3 separate regions of the Homo sapiens genome follow, and regions 2 and 3 are each linked to region 1. Evidence: promoter capture Hi-C in 16 types of primary human blood cells and fetal thymus (Javierre and others, 2016). All regions are on one chromosome and are shown on one strand. The core of a region is centred on a gene start or on the middle of the fragment in contact, and the rest is flanking DNA. Distances in the headings are between cores, read along the strand shown. Region 1 holds the start of PMP2 (peripheral myelin protein 2). Region 2 overlaps LNMICC (lncRNA associated with lymph node metastasis in cervical cancer). Region 3 has its middle 14 kb from the start of LNMICC.

What was found. The method cuts DNA at HindIII sites, captures the fragments that hold promoters and counts their contacts. A CHiCAGO score of 5 or more calls a contact.
Region 2: a contact is called between a fragment that was not itself captured here and the fragment with the promoter of PMP2 in region 1, in 1 of 17 cell types (M2 macrophages). The highest score is 6.4, in M2 macrophages.
Region 3: a fragment that was not itself captured here is called in contact with the fragment with the promoter of PMP2 in region 1 in 2 of 17 cell types (M0 macrophages and M1 macrophages); the score reaches 5.7 in M0 macrophages.

Annotation. Positions count from the first base shown.
Region 1 is chr8:81,445,084-81,450,208 of GRCh38, reverse strand. PMP2 (peripheral myelin protein 2) reads left to right here and starts at 2,770. Exons shown (of 4, transcript NM_002677.5): 1 at 2,770-2,895. The coding sequence starts at 2,823. The HindIII fragment of the contact is 2,109 bases long and covers 1,085-3,193 here.
Region 2 is chr8:81,272,856-81,277,980 of GRCh38, reverse strand. It overlaps LNMICC (lncRNA associated with lymph node metastasis in cervical cancer), which reads left to right. Exons shown (of 2, transcript NR_186603.1): 2 at 1-2,582. Among named protein-coding and RNA genes, the nearest start is that of FABP5, 5.1 kb to the left of the region's middle. The HindIII fragment of the contact is 4,234 bases long and covers 1,098-5,125 here.
Region 3 is chr8:81,292,726-81,297,850 of GRCh38, reverse strand. No RefSeq gene overlaps it. Among named protein-coding and RNA genes, the nearest start is that of LNMICC, 14 kb to the right of the region's middle. The HindIII fragment of the contact is 9,479 bases long and covers 1-5,125 here.

The DNA of each region.
Region 1 (5,125 bases), core at 1,521-4,020:
ATTACAATTAATACTTCTTGCTTCAAGCCTTTATCAAATCATGAGTAGAATGTAAGTTCCATGAGGGCAAGGAATTTGATTCAATAATGTTTAACCAGCACTTTCAACAGTGCTTGGCACTTAATAAGCTCTCAACAAATATTTTTGCAATTGAATAAACAGCAAAAGTTGAGTTGGATCTTTGGCATCCAAGTGGAGGGTCAGGAATTCTTTGTTCATTTGCTATGTAATGATTGATTATCTTATTTCTTTTTCAAATATATAATTGGATTTAGCTTGAAGACAATCTATAAGGAACACTTACATGGTTTGTTATATAGAGTAAGCTTTCCTTATTTATTTTGTTTGGACCTTTGGATCTTCCTTTCAGTGTATGAGTCAAATAACTTGCTGTATCTTGAGAATTTACATGGACAATAAATTGGTGAAGAGAGAAGAACTGAATACACATCATAGAGAGACTATATGTATTTTACAAACATGTAGTTCAGTCTAAATATATACATCTAGTTATAATGTGGTTCTATGCATTCTTTCTTGTTAGGACATTGATGACTTTCTTAGCTAGGAGTGATGTAATGTTTCAGGCCTAGTTCAGTCCGGGTCTTCCCTCATTGCTTTGATCTGTGCCTTTGGCCCATATATTGGCCTCAGAATCCCATCACGGTCCAAACTTGTCTGGTCAGTTCTATTAATAGCAGTCAGGTACAATTGCTGATAAGCCTTAAGTAGAAAATTTTTCTCTTGGTCTAATATTGCTTCAAAGTTATAAGTTTTCTCTCTTGGAAATATATGGCTCAATGTTTATGTTTTAAACTCCACTGCTGTTCCTATGTGCAACACAGAGTCAGCTTAAAATTCACACAGCTTTCTTGTAGCAGTCCCACTGAATACAAGGTCTCAGCTCTAGTGTGAGGGTTTGGGAGTCCTTCATTTATTTAGGCAGAAAACCTAAATGTTGAATGCTGTACTCCTTAATAGTGTACAGCTAACAAAAAAAAAAAAGTTTTGAAGGTACAAGTGATATCATCATTTCTGTAAAGTGTTTTGGAAAATAAAATAACATATCCACTAATCAAAAGCTTTTTCTTTCACAGTTGTTTTTTCTATCCCAGTACAATGTACTCCCTCCAGTTACATTCTCTTGGGTTTAGGATTGGGTTAGTTGGTTAGCTGAGGAATTTTCCTATTCACCATTTCTTTCCCACCTTGAGCTATTCAGGCACTGGGATTGTAAATGAAACTTCAGCCCACTGTATATGATTTCACGTGTTTTACTCAGCTTGAACTCTAACTATGTAACTGCAATAGTTATGTCACAGCTATGCGACTGGGTTTCTTGAGCCCTTCTTGCTAGTAATTCTACCTGTTATGAGCAAATTCATCATATTTTTGTTGTTGTAAACAGTGCCAACCTGTTTACTAAATGTATAAAACTTGGTAATATCAGTTGTCTCCAGCCAGAATTAATGCTAAGGTAAAAACAAACAACAAACAAACAACAACAAAAACAAACAAACAAAAAACCTGCTAGGAAAGATATAGCAGTAATCAGAGATTCTCAAGAGCAACACTTATGTTCTAAGTGGATTTACGTTTGTTCCCCTTGGCCAAAGACTGGGGCTTTGATGTAATATAGTAGGCTGGATCTTTTGATTTTTTACCTCTCTTGATTTTTGAGAAGAGAGAGAGTGTTTCTAGCTAATCGTGGTGCTATCAGCATCAGGTGATCTCTGGCCAGGGCCTCCGTGCACGTAGCATGTATGGTATAGTATAATAGAAGCAGGGTAAGATCATGGTTCAGAACCCGGGCACTGGCAGCAATGCTGGGTTCAAACCTGTCCTCTCCTTATTCAACTTTTGGGAGCAATTTACCTAATGTCCCCAAGCTCATTTTTATCATTGGTAAAATGGATATAATAATAGTTCCTAACTCTTGGAATTAGTGATATAATTAAATGAGATCACCCGTATTAAGCACTTAGCACAGTGTCTGGCCCATAGTGAGTTGTCAATATAAATTAGTACTCTTTCTATAGAAAATCCTCTTTATAAAATTGTAGATTCATTTTAAATGACTTAAACACAAATAGTTATAGTATCCAGGAACCTGCTTAGTTCAGACTTTAAGTATTTCTAGCTGAAAATCTTTGTTGTGCTCAAAGAACATGTTATAGTGCTACTTCTTGTTTCATCACATGAATACAATTTCTGTGCTCTGCTGCAATAGACTGACTTCTTTGTCTGCCTACTCTGCCTGCCTGGGATATGTGAACTATGCCAAGCCTTCTTACCTATGAATACTTCCTCACACTGCTCCCCTACGTTTCTCTCCCACAACATATTTGAGACTGTTATCATAATACTTACAGACATTTTCCTCTTTTTCTTCCCTTTCAATAAGAATTCTTAATTGTGCAGACTCAGGATTGAGAGTGACCGACATGCCTAAACACACACACATTCATTCATGATCACAGAATTCATGCAGTCTTTTCCAAAGCATGAAGGGCCTAAGCCTTCTTATAAATGTAAGATTGATCAAAAAATTTTTGAAGATTCAAATAGTAATCTCATTCATTTTATAAATTTTTTTGGAGACAAAGGGAAGTATTATGTGGGGTTTTCTTTTATCCTATTGGGCGGGCAGCTGGCCATTGAAGAGCCATTCATTGCTTAGTCCCGACACTGCCTTTCCCCATTGGGTCTCTGTAAGAGTCACACGCTTTGGGCATCCTTGAAAAGAATCTTCTGAGGCCTCAGCATTTTATCTGAGTCTTCTGAATCCCACTTAGAACTGTGTTGAGCTCTCACCCATCACGATGAGCAACAAATTCCTGGGCACCTGGAAACTTGTCTCTAGTGAGAACTTTGACGATTACATGAAAGCTCTGGGTAAGAAATGCTTTTTGTTGTTCTGCTGAAAAGCTCCTTTTTAAGAAAGCTACATGACATTTTCATCTACTACTTTTAACAGGATACTGGGGAGTTTTGCAAGGCTGCAGTACAATCCTCTTTTAGGATTAATCTTTTGTTGTGTCATTCAGATAATTTATTTGAATTTTATTTGTGGTAATTTTTAATAGAATTAACTTAAATGAGAGAGCTGCTTAAATGCATGGAATGCCCACTGATTTCAAGGGCAATTTCATACCAAGAGAATTTTGGTTGCAGGTCCAGAGGAGAGAAAGCTTAAAAGCATGGTCAACCCATTTTCTGGCTTTTCTGAGAGCTACGTTCATAGCAACTGAAGTGTTCATAAAATAAGGAATTGAATATATTGCAAATCCTAGAAAATCTCAATTTAAAAATTTAAGTTTTAGCTAAACTAACAGTTTTTTCTCTCTACCTCTAGGTTGTCCTTTATTACACAATCATGTAGATACAGAGAGTTTGAAAAACAAAAATACTTCCTAAAATACTGTGTTCATAGTCTAGGGAAGTTACTGAGAGAAAAAGAACTGGAGTTATGGCAGTGAATTCAAACTCAATTTCGCTAACATCAGACGTTTCTGGAGTTGGAGCAGTGAGTGAAGATGGAAAACCGAGTCATTAGTTACAACAACTTTATTTTATACTATTTCTAGAGTATGTCCCATCGATATAAACACAATAGATATGAAGAGTCTTTGGGAATTTTCAGAACTATATAAATACAATAAAGAGTGATGCCAGTGACCCGAGTTTGCTGTGCTTGTCAAAGTGCCTACAGCTTTACTTAACTGTTCAGAAAGCCTGTATAAAATGTTCTATTTTAGATAAAATGAGCAAAGTCATGTCATTGTTGCCTGGAACAGTAAGAGAACTTATGGGGATCAATTCATACTGTGAGATCGGTTAGATTTAAAGACTTCACTTTACAGCTGAGGAAGAAGCCAAATAAAAGAAAGTCTCAGTGAAGGATTTTCTAATTCCACTGTTTTCCAGTTTAGCATGCAAAATAACACCTTGGGATTTGGTAAATATAAATTCTCAGGCTCTGACCCAGAGATTATGATTTAACTTGAGAAACATTGTCCTAAACTGTATAAAATAACAAAAGATTAATCAGAATTTGAAGAAAGAATATAGTTTATAGTTTATTGGCTGTAACTCTTAACTTCTTATTCAGTATGTAAAAGTTTGAGATCTTTTTAACTGGAAAAAGTTATTCAACCATTGAGACTTCCTGGAAAATTAGTTTTTCTTTCATATATTTTTTATTTTACATTTTCCCTTTTCCATATATTTTATAGTCTTGGTAATAATGGTAATAAACTTAAGAGTCTAATTTTGTTTCATTTTTGAAATGTAGAAGAGTTTTTTAAAAAATATTTTATTTCTCTATGATCATTTATAATAGTATAGATCTCAAAGTTAGATGGATAGTTTTTTTCCTACCAGCTAGATATAGAAGCCACAAAATTTCAGAAGTGAAATTCTATCAAAAATATGAGGGGAATACTTCTCTATATCCATAATATGGTATTGAGGGAAAATATCATAGAACAATACGTATATGCTATAGTCTCATCTTTAAAATATATCTATAGTATTTGTACATACAAACTAAAATCTCTAGAATGATTTATGCAAATCTATAATTAGTAATTTTCAATGGGGAATAGGATTGGATGTGATAAAAATGGATGACTTGCAGTAGCTATTTCAGCTGGAAACTTTTACTCTTGAAAATCTGCAGACATTGGCCGGGCGCGGTGGCTCACGCCTGTAATCCCAGCACTTTGGAAGGCCGAGGAGGGCAGATCACGAGGTCAGGAGATCGAGACCATCCTGGCTAACACGGTGAAACCCCGTCTCTACTAAAAATACAAAAAATTAGCCAGGCGTGGTGGCGGCCCCTGTAGTCCCAGCTACTCGGGAGGCTGAGGCAGGAGAATGGAGTGAACCTGGGAGGCGGAGCTTGCAGTGAGCCGAGATTGCTCCATTGCACTCCAACCAGGACGACAGAGCGAGACTCCGTCTCAAAAAGAAAAGAAAAAGAAAAAAAAAAAAGAAAATCTGCAGACTTTACTTTTGCAACAACAAAACCTAAAATGTTTGAGTCCTGGGCATGTATTTCCATTAGGAGTGAAACATGGGAGGAGATGCTTAGTAGTAAGTGATATTACCTGCCATCAACTCA
Region 2 (5,125 bases), core at 1,965-4,464, 170 kb after region 1:
GGTCCCCTTCAGTTTATGAAGTACTCCTGCAGTAGAAGTTCATGGCCTTGAAAAAGCGTACTCAAAATTACTCTATTTCCACCTAGTGGTGAAACCGTAATATTTCTCTGAGGCTTTACTTGATAAACGTGAGTAGTTTTTCAGCTTCTCATTCTGTAATCACACACAGCTTTGGAGCATATTGTGTCATTTTTATTTAAAGACAACTTCCCAGTTAAAGTTTATGTACATAGATGTGCCTTCCACAAAGTTGATTATTGTATATTAGTTCTTCCTAAGGACAGTTAAGTGTTGGTGGCTTAGCAACAGGCAGTTGGTAGAGAAATGGAGAGTACTACATTAAATTATTGCAGAGAATATTCAAAGTAATCCATTTTCAGGGAACTGAGTCTTCTCTAAGTACATGGCCAGATGATCAAAAAAGGAAAAAAATTAATCACTAAGGTTGGAGAATATGTTTATTTAAACCTAGTGTCTCCCTTAAATTTTATAACTAGATTTTTGACCCTCACTCATCTGGCTTTCCTTGCTATAGACATGCTTTGCATACCCAGCTTCTAGCCACATCTTCCCTAAGAAAATTTCACCTGGAATCAGTTCCAAAAGAAAATCTTAAGAGATAGAGTATGGATCTGCATGTTGTCAGCTACCTAAAGCAGCAAAAATTCCTAGATGAGAATAAAATCAGGGAACCTTGCAGTTTAAGGCACACCTTAAATATTAAATTTTTAATCCTTCAATGCATCCAGCCAAAACAAGAAATTGCAAATAGCTACCATCCATCAATGCAAGGTTTTTTTGGTTTGTTTTTCATAATAAGATTGGTTTTAATTAAAGCACTTATAAAGATGGAGTTATATTTTGAACTTTGTCCTTTTACTTAAAGCAGTTAGAGTCTTACACATCATAACTGCCACGGCTAACCATTAAAATTTTCCAGCTCCTTAAATGATCCATCATAAACTTGTGCTTGCTGAGTTAACTGGACTAGAGGATAGCTGGAGGGAAAATGAGGCATTGCAAAAGTTACAGTAATAAAAAGTGAATGGCTTCAAAATAAGGCAGAGGACATAATGGCTCATTTTATAATAAAAGCTTTCAGTATAAAATTCATACATTTCCCTTACTTATATAGATCTTCCTACTTTCCAGACATGTGTATTATTGTATATTACATTTGTCAATAGCTCATGGCAACAGATACACATAGTTTGGGATAACCCTTTTATACCTCATATGAGCAGTGTTCAAAGGTTTAAAAGCACAACTCCAAAGGGCACAGCTTGAAATGGAGCGGGAGGATGCTAGCAAAGCCACCCCAATAAACACAAAATCTTAGTAAAAGCACTATGTTTACCAGGCAATGCAACTTCAAAACAAATTCCTTAGCAACCCCAACCTCTTCAAGCCCGCTTCTAATCACATTATTACTCCTAAGCCTCCTTATATACAAAATCTTAGGCTGGCCAAGCCCAAACACACAGACACATTAATAATGAGCATCTCTGTCCTTAAAAAATTTCAAACATAAAAAACCTCCAAATGATATGTTCCCACTGGAAGAGGCCAAATTCTTTTCTTGTAGATTACCCTTTTCTATTTTTCATTCCTACCTCCCATGCAGTATTCCTAGATTCTCACACCATTTGATCATTTCTCTATTTTGATATTTATCTATAAGAATTAATGATTTTTTTCAAGTCAAATCTACAAAACCGTGGATTTGCTTGCCTCTAAGCTATTTATCTCAGTGAGTCAGGCCCACTGCTTCCATTTTTCTGGATTAGCTTTGAAGAAGAATCATCAGCACTTAATAACCTACCTAAATCCGACTGAAGATGCTTTCTTGATCCTATCTCTGGTCCTCCTACTTTGGCAGTGGGAAGAGCTACCCTATAACTCCTCAGAGTCATGCACAGAGCTGTAAAACCAGCATGCAGCTGATTTTGTGCACTTCTCTGAAGGACCCAAGCAGCAGGATGGGTACCTTTTGTTCACCCACCCATAGACACCACAGGACACTTTTTGTTCACCTGCTCACTTCTGCATTGACCAAACTTAAAGATACAGATTCAACAGTATGTAGGGGAAGTTTCCAGTAAAGTATATTCTGTTTTCTACATTGGTTAAATATTGTAATTTCATGCGGGAACTGGGAGGCTAAGTAGTTGTTACCATTAAGAAGAGCAACTGTGATCTTACTTCCAGCCTATTTTGGAAGGTGGGATAAAAAATATTTGTGCCACAAATCTCAAATCTTGTCTCCTATCTTACAACCTTGAAATACATAGTTAATTCTGCAGGGTCTCAGACATCCTACTGAGTTGCCAAATATTGAACACCAAGCTGGGCTTGTCAACACTCAGGGCTACAAAGAGGAGATCTCAAAACTACCATGGCCTCAGGATTCTGAATGTGGGTCTGAAATCCCTACTTCTTACTTTGGATTAAAAGCTCACCTGAGCTACACACATCTGTTGTCCTAGAATGGATATTTTTATTTAGATATCAACCAATTCAACTTCACTCCTTTATTGAGTCAGTCAAGAAATCAATAAAATTGACTTCAAAAATTGAAATCACTTCTTAATTCTCCTCTGGTTTTCTTCCTACCCTGCCCTTTCTTCTTCACACTCAATATAGTTTTACCCATCTGAATGAGGAATAAGTCTGACTTGTCTTTGAAACATTTGCTTTATTTCATAACTGCCACACGCTGGGCCTAAAGTGTATGTACCTGGATCTGAAGACAACAAAATACCTAGAGGATCTGCTCTGTGGGTGGGACACGGCAGCTAGAGCTGTGGAGGTCAGGCTTGAATTCCAGGGGATGGTACTGTCATGATTCTGATGGGTTCTTCTGATCTGGATTTGGATCCTGGCAAGAGAATGGTAGACAGAGTTTAGCCATCAGGAAGAAGGAACAAGACCTAAGCTGATGGTCAAATCCTAAAATAACACAAAAATAATCATGTGCCCTGCATCCTTACCTCCTTCTCCCTGCCCAGCACATCAGATAGCATTAATTCTAGTTTCACCATCAGAGCAGAGATGGAGCTCCTAATGGCCTTTCTGCCCTGGTAGGTTATCTGAACACACGATTTTTTTCAGAGTGCAAGATAGGATGACCATATCCTGGTTTGACTGGGGCAAGTCAGAGCTATGCTTGTTGTCCTGGTATGATTTTGAGCAATGCCCTCCTTCCTTCCAACTATTTCAAATAGGATGAAGAGTTGTTATATTTAATTCTCACCTATCAGGTAGCTCCAAAGTCTAAATTTCAAGGAAGGCATTAACATGGTACTACAGCATCATCTATTGTAAGACCTGAAGGTGCCTTGCAGGAGGGAAAAAATGTGGTAGCGCCATGTTCAGTATTACCCTACTCAGGTATCATACAAATATGTCATGCAGGGACAGCTTTGCTTGCTCACAAAAGAATGGCCAGCAGAGATGTCCATACCAGACACATTCCTTTGTCTCAAATCACCCCATATTTTTAGAACACCTAGTAATTATGTGGATAGAATCTAGTTCTTATCTTCAAGAAGTCTGGTATCTAAGTCTATACAAGCTAAAAACTACATCCATTGTGGGTTTTTTAAATTTCACAAACATTTATTAAAAATTGATTCTGTTTTAGTTCATCACATATTGAAAATTTTAAAAAATTGAAGGTCTTTGAAATATCAGGTAAACAGAAGCCCTCAGGTTCCCCATAATTCATTATGCCTTTTTTCTTAAGAAACCACATTATTTTATTTAAGAAATAAATGAAAGGTTTTTAGATCATCACTGGTTAATTTAAAGTCTACATTTGTTGTTTTCCATTTACACAATCATGTTTTTATTTTATTCTTTTAATTTTTTTATTGACAAATAATAATTGTATATATTTATGGGGTAAAATGTGATGTTATGATGTAGGTATAAAAATAAAATACTTAGGAGTAAATTTAACCAAGGAGATAAAAAATCTATATGCTGAAAACTGTAAAACATTGATAAAAGAAATTTAAAATGGCACAAATAAATGGAAAGATATCCTGTATTCTTGCACTGGAGGAACTAATATTGTGAAAATGTCCATACCACCCAAAGTGATCTGTAGATTCAATGCAATTCCTACCAAAATTCCAAGGTCATTCTTCACAGAAATGGAGAAAACAATTCTAAAATTCATATAGAACCACAAAGGACCCCAATTAGCCAAGAAAAACAAATAGCAAAGGCTGGAGGCATCACACTACCTGATTTCAAAAATGTACTACAAAGCTATAGTAATTGAAAAAGCATGGTGCTGGCACAAAAAGAAACGCATCAACCAATGGGATAGAATAGCCCAGGGAAAACCACATCTGCAGTCAACTTAATTTTTTTTTTTTTTTTTTTACAAAGGTGCCAAGAACACACAATGAGGAAAGAACAGTCTCTTTAATAAATGGTATTGAGAAAACTGGAGATCAACATGTAGAAGAATGAAATTAGGCCCTTATCTCTTACCATATACAAAAATCATCTAAAAATGGATTAAATACTTAAATGTAAAACATGAAACTACTAGGAGAAAACATAAAACTACTAGGAGAAAACATAGAGGGAAAACTCCATGGCATTGGTCAAGGCCATTGTTTTATCTTTATAATATTAAGCGAGTCTTTAACAGAAACCAGGTGAGTGTACCAAATAAATATATCTTGTTTAAAATTAATGTGCCAAATGTCAAAAAGTTAACTGAGGTAAACTTTGCTCAGCTAGAAAGATCTTGTCTGAGAAATACTGGGTTAGAAATCATGAAGCAACTCATGTCACTACTCAGCTCTGCCTGTGCTTTAGAGTTAGTTCATCGCTATAAACCGGGTAGTAAACGGACACCAGGCTATGCCTGAGGTGGTGATGCATACTGAGATATACAACTTGCATAATAAAAATTTCCAGAATACAAGTCAAAACTGGAATTGTCACCACCCGGCTAGTTCAGTAAGGGTCAGAAAATCCTGCTGAGTTCCTTTTCTGAGAATTGAGAGAAGAGTCTCAGAAGCAAAGCTGAATGATTTCTTGCCACACATACTCTGATGCCCTTGTCTTTCAGTAGAAACTGTACGTGGTTCCTGGGGAGAAGACT
Region 3 (5,125 bases), core at 1,365-3,864, 150 kb after region 1:
GACCAACATGGTGAAACCCCGTCTCTACCAAAAATACAAAAATTAGCTGGGTGTGAAGGTGTGTGCTTGTAATCCCAGCTACTTGGGAGACTGAGGCAGGAGAATCACTTGAACCCGGGAGGCAGAGGTTGCAGTGAGCTGAGATCATGCCACTGCACTCCAGCCTGGGCAACAGAGTGAGACTCCATCTCAAAAAAAAAAACAAAAAAAAACTGAATTACATGCATCACATGTGTTCTATACTGTAATGTATAAATTCTGTTCAAAATCATTCTTGTGTTTGTTTAGATAACATCTGTTTCCATGTCAGTCTAATGCATTGTAAACTTACTGAGGGCAGGGAGCATGTCTAACCTAATGAGAGTTGCCTCAAATAAATATCAGTCCAGAACAATACTTTTATGCATACCAAACCCATCCCTGCATCTCCCCCACCATCTTCTCAGCCAGTAAGAAACTAAACTGCCTCTGCCTGACTCTGTGCTGGACTACTTGCTCTTGTCAACCTCCTATAACCACCAAACCAGTCATGCATCATGACCCTGAACAAACTGGGCCCTGTGTTGTCTCTGTAATGAATCTCCCCTTCTGGAGATATTATTAGCAAAACAATATTCCAGGAACTTGCCTTATATCGGTTCCACTTTCTCTGAGGCTGCTTTTCCAGCAAGAAGTATTACTGATGGATAGGCCCTTCTGCTTATCACAGAGCCAGCCCTTTTAAAACACATTCTTATCTTTGAGGATTTTGGCAGCAGGTACTCCACTGTTGAGCACTTACTTTTAGAAAATGCACTGACTCCCAGATGAAATTAGGTAGATGAATTCCCACCCCTATAGTGAGTGACATATTTTTTTTTACTTCTTTCTTTTTTTTTTTTTTTTGAGATGAAGCCTCGCTCTGCAGCCCAGGCTGGAGTGCAGTGGTGTGATCTCGGCTCACCGCAACCTCTACCTCCTGGGTTCAAGAGATTCTCCTTCCTCAGCCTCCAGAGTAGCTGGGATTACAGGCATGCACCACAGCACCTGGCTAATTTTTTGTATTTTTAGTAGAGGTGGAGTTTCACCATGTTGGCCAACCTGGTCTTGAACTCTGACCTCAGGTAATCTGCCCACCTCAGCCTCCCACAGTGCTAGGATTACAGGCGTAAGTCACCGCGCCTGGCTGTGAGTGATATTTTTATCAGTAAATGGTTATTAGTTTCCTACAGGAAGAGACTAAAGGATTAGGTATAAACATGTATTCATATCTACTCAAATAATTCCTGTATAAGTACTCATGAGGGGCAGAATAATTTCAGACATCAGATAGCATCCATTGAACTCTTGCGGCTGCCTTATCATCAAGTAACCTACATCTCTCCTCAATGCTGTTAGCAGCACTTAGCAGCTCAATTCTTGATCTCCATTTGTACTTAGACTTTAGAGTCTCTTTAAATTGAATAAAACAACATAGCCTGAACTTTGGTTATCTATAAGAGCAAAAGACTGAAAACAATCCACAAGACTATTAATTAAGCCTTTCCCAAGTATATTTGCAATTTTCTAAAACAAAACAGCACCATATGTCTGATAAGGACCTACCTTAGAGGAGTTGTTAAATTAATAAAGCAAGGTACAGAGATGCATATATAATTATGCCTGGATTTACAGAGAATATTGCTAGAAAGATAAATAAGAAAAAGGTTACCATGATTGCCTCTAAAAAGGAGACGAGTGGCTGGGGACAGGGGTAGTAGGAAGGCTGACAATTTTACTACTGTATTTTTGTATTTTGTAATGTGACACTGAAGTTATTTACAGACTCAAAATGATTTATTAATTTTTTTTAAAAACCAGCATGGGTATTGGAATTAGACAGACTTGGATTAGTATCCTGACTAAGGTTGCCAGACATAAGATGCAGGACATCCTGTATTTTTTATTTTATTTTTATTGCTAGATAAAATGCAAGAGTCCTGTATTTTTATTTGCTCAATACAGCAATCCTAGGTCCTGACCTCACCATTTATTTTGTTTGTAACTCTAAACAAGTGAGTTAGGTCAGATTCCTCTGAAACAGAAGGAAGGAGAGGAAGCCATGAAGGATGAGATCTCAGGCTCAGCCCCATCCTGTGGGTGAATTCAAGTGTGAGTTCAGCCTTGGTGTTGTCCCATCTTCAGCAAGGGAGCTGGGTTTCATATTCCCACACTGCACCAGGCAGCCCTGGCAGAGAAAGAAGAACACAAACTCTCAGTCACTTTCAGCCTTCTGCATGTGTGGGAAAAAGGGCTCTAGTAGTCCAAGGACAGATTTCCCACAAAGAGCCTTAGCTGCTGGCTGCTGAAAGTACACCAAAGCCAGGGGGATAAACCATAAAAACGTATTCAAAGGGACAAGCAGGTCACTGGGAGTCATGGTGAGCAAGGTCACTCCTATTCCTGCCTCTGGTTCCTGAGCCTGTAGATCGCTCCCATTGGATTCCCATTTGTACTTAGACTCTAGAGTCTCTATAAATTGAATGAAAAGTAGCCTGAACTTTGGTTATCTATAAGAGCAAAAGACTGAAAACAATCCACACAAATTTTATTTTTATTTATTTATTTATTTATTTATTTTGAGACGGAGTCTCACTCTATTGCCCAGGCTAGCATGCAGTGGCATGATCTCCGCTCACTGCAACCTCCGCCTCCCAGGTTCAAGCAATTCTCCTGCCTCAGCCTCCCAAGTAGCTGGAACTACAGGCGTCCGCCACCATGCCTGGATAAGTTTTTGTTTTTTGTTGTTGTTTTTTTTTTAGTAAAGTTGGGGTTTCACCATGTTGGCCAGGCTGGTCTTGAGCTCCTGACCTCAAGTGATCCACCCACCTTGGCTTTCTCCCCAAGTGCTGGGATTACAGGTGTGAGCCACCGCTCCCAGCCACCATGACTATTAATTAAGCCTTTCACAAGCAAATCTGCAATTTTTAAAAACAAAGCAGCACCATATGTAATAGCTGCTGCTTCATGCTGCTTACCACATCCTGAAGGACAGTACCCCAGTCTTGGGTTTGCCTTCAACAGACCGTTCCATGCTCCATCAGGCTAGAATCGTCTGAAAGTGGTGGTTTGTGGTAGGAACAGCAACTTTCCTCATCATGGACTCTTTGCCACACTTCATTCACCATAGAATGGGTCTCAAGGTGATGTTATATCAACAGATGAAACACTCTGTGGGCCCCCAGACAGCAGTGTTGGCTGGGGACCTGCAGAAGAAGGGAAAGCTCCTTTGTGGAATATGTCAATCTGGTCAGGATGAATTGAGCCCTGGAGTCCTTTGAGTAAGGACTGGAGGGATCCCTGCTGCATACACTTATGGTGGTGTTGCAGGGAGTTCTGTCTACCTATTGCTACAGAACAAATCACCCCAAAACGAGGCTTAAACAACAATCATTTTATTATGTCCCAAGGTTTTGGAGGGTCAGGAATTTCCAGGGCTCAGCAGGGCTGTTCTGAGTGAGTTCCCCAGAAGCAAAGCCAGAGCAAGAATTTGCATGCAAGTGATTTGTTAAGGGAAGTGTTAGGGAAAGATCTGTAAAGGCGTGAGAGAGGGGAAGTAGGAGTGGGAAGAGGAGGAAACTGAGGCAGGATATGATCTCAGACCATGTTCTACAGAGGGCGGGCTTTAGCCTGATCCAGGGAGCAACTCTGGAGGGTCAGTTATATCTCAGTTATATATCAGATGTCCTCATCTGATGCAAGGGACCTGAGCTTTCACACTCCTACACTTGACAGTCACTGGTTGTTTGCCACCCTGGGCATCAGGTTGGAATTGGAGGGTAACTCCCAAGCATGCCTGACTCCCTCCATGTGAAGCTCCAGAGGCCTCTTCAAATTGCTGTTCAGCTTCTGTTTTTTGATTTGTAAAATGGAAATAATATTTGTATCTGCCTCATATTTTGGCTTTTACTATTATTTTTAATTGACACTTAATTATACATATTTATGAGGTACAGTCTACTATTTTGATATGTGTATATAATGTGAATTATGAAATCAGGGTAATTAGCATATGGAAATTCAAAATCTTCCCTTCTAGCTATTTGAAAATATATAATAAATTATTAATTATAGTCACTCTACAGTGCCATAGAACACTGGAACTATCCTCCTATCTAGCTCTAATTTTGTATCCATTAACTAACCTTTCCCTAATCCTGCTTCCCACGACCCTACCCGGCCTCTAATAACCACTATTCTAACTCTATGTTTCTAAGAGTTCAACTTTTTTAGCTCTCATGTATGAGTGATAACATGTGGCATTTGTCTCTCTGTCGCCTGCCTTATTTCACTTAATATAATGTCCTCCAAACTCATCCATGTTGAAGGATGTATATCTATTAAGCAATTTACCCATTTTTAATTGGATTTTTTTTGGTGTTGAGTTTGTATCTATCTCATCTTTTAGAATTTAATGGAATTATTCATGTAAAGTTTTCGCCTCAGTATCTGGCACTACTGTAAAAACAGTATTACAAATCATTATTTGGAGCAGAAATTATTCAAAATATACTATTGGTTTTATGTGCAATATTTTCTCCACATTCAATACAACAAATGCTTTATCATAGGCAGATAAATCTCCTTAATTATGAAAAGCAAATGTGAGTATCAGGAACAATGGCTAAATATACCAAAACATTGTGTTGAACACCATAAATATGTACAATTTTGTCATTTAAAATGAAAAAATTAAAGAAAATATGAATTATTTTCATGTTTAATACACTTCCAGACATTCAGAACACTACATGATACACAGGCCTTCAAAAATATTTCTTGAATTGATGTATTAATAAATGTTGTTCATAATAATTGCAAAAAAAGCGGGATAATTATAAATCTACAATCTCTTATCCACCAACCCCAAAATACAAAAAGCTCCAAAAACTGATTTGTTTTTCTTTTATAACTTAGTTGGTGGCAAAACCTCATGGGATTTGAACTCATCTGGCAGCAAAACCTGAGGTGAACTGATGGGCGGGCCACGTACAGTCTTTCTTCACCTCACTTAGTGTGAGTAGTCACACGATTTCACTACAGATACATTAATATGTTTGATTAAATGGTATTGTCCCAGGCATCTCTGGCAAAATTATATAATATA